Linked DNA regions of Homo sapiens: region 2 is linked to region 1. Evidence: promoter capture Hi-C in 16 types of primary human blood cells and fetal thymus (Javierre and others, 2016). All regions are on one chromosome and are shown on one strand. Each heading gives the region's core, a stretch centred on a gene start or on the middle of the fragment in contact. The rest is flanking DNA. Distances are from core to core; before and after follow the strand shown.

Region 1 (2,933 bases), core at 383-2,882:
TCCATTACCCCATGAAGCTCCTATTATTATTCCCATTTTACAGAGAAGAAGGCCAAGGCTCAGGCAGGTTAAGTGACTCACAACCACACGAGTGTCAGTGGCAGAGCTGGAGTTCCCCCTCATTCCCCAGATTCCTACTCTCCATTCTATATTCTATACTCAGCATGTCTCTGGGTACCAGACCCTCAAAGAGAAGTAAGGCTGATATATGTTAAGCCCCCAAACATTGTTATAGGTGACAGTCTGTTTTCTGAGGAGCATTTTATGTGTCTTTAGAAAGAGCCTGAGATCCTTTCTGGACGAAGGTTTGTTTGGAAGTAGTGTGAATGGGGAGGGGGTTCATGGGAGAGACCGGGTCTGTCCTTACCTTATTCAGTAGGCAATCTTCTAAGTCTCCCACAGTAAGGTATTTCATGGCTTCTTGGTCAGTCCTCAGTAGAACAGCAACTTCCTGGTTTTTTTTTTTTTCTCAATGGAGTGCAACACTTGTGAGTAGATAGCACTCCCAGTAATGTGAGTCTCTGGGTACTAAGTTTTTCTGGAAGTGTGTAATGGACCAGAGACTTGCCTTCCGAACCCTTCACTCATGTTTTTATTTCCAAATTGTGAAAATCCATCTGTCATCTTTTGGGAAATTAAAAAAAAAAGAATTTAAAAAGAAGAGTTGATAAAATTGAATTTGAGTCCAACCTAATCATACCTTAGTTAGCTACATTGACTGGTGCTTTCACCAGAGAGCAATTTTCCAAATTGTATTTCCCACCCAAGTACTTAAAAGTTCCATCCAAGTCAGAAATACCCTGTAGTTGGCTTCTCCCCACCTTTTATGCTCCTGTCCCAACACTAGATGCACCGTGGAACTCAGTATCTTATATCTCCTGGTCCTTATCCTGTTGACAGTAAACACCCCTTGCTCTCCAAGCCAGAAAATCCCACGGATTGATTTACCTTCTTTACAATAAACAAATAGGAAACTGCCCAACAACCAGCCTGACACCCATCATTATGCCCGCAAACAAGTGATCAGGTCTTGTCAGCCAGCGCAGAGCACAACGGTTGGCATTTAGAAAAGCATGCACACACGTACACACAGGCACACACATATACACAGGCACACACGTACACACAGGCACACACATATACACAGGCACACACACGTACACAGAGTGCACACGGGCACACACCCACAGGAATGGCTGGTCAGGAATCCTTCTGCTCACCTGCTGACCTTTAAACGTAATTTCCCTCTTCCAACTTGAAAGCTGGCAGTAAAAATAAAGTCAGTGTAAACAGGTCCCTTTAGAGTCGAGGGAACACTCACGTCTGGTTTTGCCAGCAAAACTTATGTTGGAAAACAGCTCAGGCAGTAAATTCCCAGTTGGGCTGGCTGGGGCTAGTTTTACTACAGAAAAAAAAAAAAAATTTCACAATGGTCTGATCTCCTTGAAGCTGGTAAACATCACGGAGTCTGCTATCAGATAATCTAAAGAAATTACAGCCCTTCTGGGAGCACTACTTACTTTTAAACAATGTTCCAAAGGCAAGTGTTTCCAAGCCCACCTGTAAGTGCTGCCCACAAAGGCCACTGCACTATTTGGGGCCTCAGCGTTTGCATATCTTCCCATACTCTGCCCCAAGCAAAAGCCGCATCAGAGCTCCCTAGCTGCTCTGTGCCCCACCCACGTCATTACCTCCAGCTTTCAGTCCAACTTCTACAGAACTCCTGCCAATGCACAGCCTGATATAAATATTGTAAAGCTACATCCTCTCCAATGACCCTCTGATAGCACCCCTCAAAACAGCCTTGATTTTCCATTTGTTTCTATATGTAATTCTAAATCTCCTTCTTTTGATATCAAGTGCTCCCAAATTTTTCAGAATCTTATTCCCTGGGCTTTTCTTATCATAGTAGTGCCAAACTATTTGTTTTTCACAGACAGCAAGAGCCTCTTTCTCTGAACTTGCAATTTAGAATTCTCTCTCCACCTCATTTTCAACATTACGAAAGTCCCACTGTTTCTCTCATGTGCTCATTTTTGTTGTTACTTCTGCTTTCACTGTAATCATTAACTTGTGAGTCCCTTTCCTCCGGTGGGGTCTTTCCTAATGTTCGAGGGTTACCCCAGACACCTGTCATCAGATGCACAAACTTTCATTATTTTTGCACCTGTGGCTGCCCTATCTTGATTGCTCCAGTACCGCAGCTGATCAAAATGTTATAACTGGAATATTCTCTTGCCCTACGATCCAGCGACAATTGCCGGCTGTGAGCAGGGAAAGCAACCAACAGGGCCAACTGAGCAATCAGGAAACGAAGAAATAATCATGTGCTCAGGGAAGCTACACAGTCCGATTTTACCAGGATGTCATATCCAGGGAATAGGTGTGTTGTGGGGGCACAACCCAATTCCCTACTCCATGATTTAGCTCCTTATGGGCAAATGCTCTGAAATACAGGGCAGTCCCACAAATAGACTCTCTGACAGCTCCTGTCTGACAGTTTGATGAAGACAAGCTTTTTTTAGATGTAGATATCTGGGTAATTGGATATAGGATTCGCAAAAGGATTGAATTACAGTAAGCCTAAGGCACTTGTATGCTAGGCCACTGAGGAAATTCAAAGTTAGCTCAGGTTCTCTTCCTTCCTCAGAAAATAAATATTCTCCTTTCTCATGACTCACACCAAATGCAAGTACGGAAATGTAAACCTGCTTTGGCTCAGTTTCCATTGTGAAGACTAAGAACTTATTACAAGTCAGGTTAACAAGGCATGCAAAACCCTACGCTGCCAATCTGAGAAGTCCCGGGGAGATAATGCTAGCCCTGGTTTACCAGCAGAAGTGTTTGTTACTGATTTACTTAGTGTCTGAGATTTTAATTCCAAGAAGGAGGAAGGTTAGCTTGATCAAAATCAACCTTAAATATACAAATTT
Region 2 (2,843 bases), core at 15-2,514, 580 kb before region 1:
TTCCCATCACTTCCCAGATGTCTACCTGGATTCTGGAGCTCCAGGAAAGAACCCCCCTGTGTTCACAATGGCGGTCCCTGGTGCCTGCAGAACTTAGGACAGGGAATTGGGGAGGTGGGGTGGTTAGGGACAAAACCCAAATATGGACTCCTTAAGAGAAATTTCAACCTTAAAAAGAAAGGAATCTGTCCCAGGCAGCAGCACAGTTGCAATTCAGAGGAAGCTGCGGTTCCGAGTGTAGGGTGGTGGACTCTACTGTAATCAGCCCACCCTAATCAGCCACCCTGAAGTCAAGCAGACATCTGGGGTGTCTCACCAATCTCCCAGCCCCTAGAATGCCAAACAACCCTGCTCTGAGGCCCTGTAATATTATCACATGGGGGTCAGGGAGCTACTCTCCTTCAATACTTCCAAGCAAACTGCCTAGAGCCAAAAGTCCAGGAAGACTAAGCACTTTGCAGATTTGAGTGAGAAATCCCCAGGGACTTCCATAGAAACTGGGAGTCTCAGAAATACCTACCAGGTTGGTTTCCTGAGGCAGTGAGCCAGGGAAGGAGGACTGATGGTGATGTTGCCTCATTTGGATACTCCATGAGCCTACGCAAGTTTCACAAAAGCTTCAAAGGAAAACAAAATATCAAATGAATCCAGTAACAACATTCTGGGGAAAAGGCTACCTGGAAGAGGGACAAAAAGGGATGAGTTTCCAGAGGAAGCCTAGGGAGGATGCCTGATGTCACTGCTGACAGAGGAAGCAGGAGGACTCAGCGCTCTCTGGACTGACCAGGCTGTGATGGGTGTGGCAGGCCAGAACTGGACAGGATCATTAAAACCCTCGGAGAGGTTTTCACTGCAAGAAAGAAGAGCTACCAGGCCTGGAGGGGAATAAGATTGGGGACCCAGGCTGCCAGTGAACTTATGCCCACCCAGAAACTCAGCCGCAGAAAAGTGGTAGGGATTATTACACCAAACTGAGAATTACAGTCTCTGCCTCCTCAGCCCCTGGCAGAGCTGCCACACATGGCAGCAGCACTGTCCTGCCTCCAGGTGAAATAGGAGCCACTGGGATCACCCACCACGCTGCAGGAGCTATGAGGCGTACAGGAGCATGGGGAAGGGATATCAACACACATAAACAAAGTAGTTCCATCCTTGCCTTATGTCTGTCTTTTTTATACCTCCGTAGATGTGGCCAACAAAATTGCTCCATAAATTGGACACTGCCCAAAGAAGTCTTTAACGCCATTCCTGGGTTCTTTGTCAAAACCATGGTGGCTTTTCCTGTCTTCACAGAGCTAAGCCCATTGTTTTGTGGTCCCTGCAGCTGTACCTCTGACCTGGGTGGAGCTGCATGTCTAGGCAGGAGAGGCTTGGGAAGCTAGAGTTGTTGCTGGTGATCTGTTTTCAGCTTGGGGCAGGAGCCAGGCTGGGTGCCAGAAGCAACTTTTGATTAGTCATTAGGCACAGACTTTGCTTCAGCCACACAGCCACCTCATTCCTGCCTCAGGGCCTTTGCACTTGCTGTTGGCTCTGCTTGGAGTCCTCTCTCTTGATCTGCACTGGACTTGTTGCTCCCTACTTCATCAAATGTTACCTTCTCAGAGGACCTTCCATGTCCGCCTCCAGTGCAGGCCCTGTTCACACTCTGTCCACTGCTCTGCTGATTTCCTTATGATAGTTACGGCACTCTACAAGGATCTTGTTTATTTGTTTACATGGCCACCGTCTCTTTCCCTACGGGAACGTCTGGAACCTTAGCTCCACCAGGGTCATCTGAAGGCTCCCAGGGTGACCCACACAGACCAGACCCCAGCCTGCACCCCAGGAGGCTCCTGCTCCCCACATACACAGAGCTCACCTCAGCCTTACCTCGCAGATGAGGAAGACTTTGGTGCCCACACAAATGCCCATGTGTGCCACGGCCCAGACAGCAGTGTTCATGCCTGCGAGAGGTCAGGGCAAGCCTATCAGTCCCATGCTGAGATGCGAGGCCCTGGACGCCTCCCCACCTCAGAGGGTGAAGGGGGGAGGCCTGGACACCCTCTCCATCTCAAAGGGCAGGGGGTGAGGGGAAGGTCTGGCAGGGGAGGGATCTTGTCTCTCATGTTCACTACTGTCCACAACCTCCAGCACAATGCTGGGTATATGATAGATAATATCTGTTGAATGAATAAATGAATAAATGCACACAGCAGCAAGCTGTGTGGCTGCTTATCCAATATAACTGTATCCCTGCGCTTCTCCCTTCCTAACATAACTTCAGTCTGCTTGGCAACATGTCCTATTCATGACCACGTGTTTGCCCTAAGCTGTTCATAGTATTCCCTCTTTCCCTGTGCTAATAACTGATTTTTCAAAAGGACCCATGACTTAGTTCTGACCAAAACCATGAGCAGAAGTCTACTAGGTAGGGCCGGGGGTTCTAAAAGAGGTTTTCCCCTTTGTAAAAAGAGAAGCAGGCACTGTCATATTATCTGGATTAGATCTGCTTAGTACAGCTGTGCCTCACTTCTCACTCTGAGGAGAGTTACCGTGAGGAAAAGTGCAACCCGATGAAGATAGCTAGGGTGCGAGCTGGAAGAAACTGGGTCTTCTATGACATTACTGAAGAACTAAATTAACCATCTCTGGAGCTTGCATACCTCTGGATTTCTTGTTATGGAGCATAATAAATTTTCCTATTATTAAGCCATTGTGAGTTGCATCTTTTGTTACTTACAGCCAAAGGCATTTGAACGATAGAGACTATGGCATACACTGTCCCTTAGTCCTGGTGGCTGCCACTGGCCTGTAGAATAGAGCCACGGCTTTTATCCACCAGATATACTGTAGGTAAACATGAA

What was found. Contacts are between HindIII fragments. The CHiCAGO score rates a contact against its expected background, and 5 or more counts as called.
Region 2: a contact is called between the fragment with the promoter of LINC02868 here and the fragment with the promoter of MAB21L3 in region 1, in 1 of 17 cell types (neutrophils). The highest score is 5.7, in neutrophils.

Annotation. Positions count from the first base shown.
Region 1 is chr1:116,110,098-116,113,030 of GRCh38, reverse strand. It overlaps MAB21L3 (mab-21 like 3), which reads right to left and starts at 1,632. Exons shown (of 8, transcript NM_152367.3): 1 at 1,521-1,632; 2 at 1,221-1,402; 3 at 368-624. The coding sequence starts at 415. The HindIII fragment of the contact is 2,542 bases long and covers 1-2,517 here.
Region 2 is chr1:116,692,533-116,695,375 of GRCh38, reverse strand. It overlaps LINC02868 (long intergenic non-protein coding RNA 2868), which reads right to left and starts at 1,264. Exons shown (of 4, transcript NR_149353.1): 1 at 1,179-1,264; 2 at 521-617. The HindIII fragment of the contact is 15,118 bases long and covers 620-2,843 here.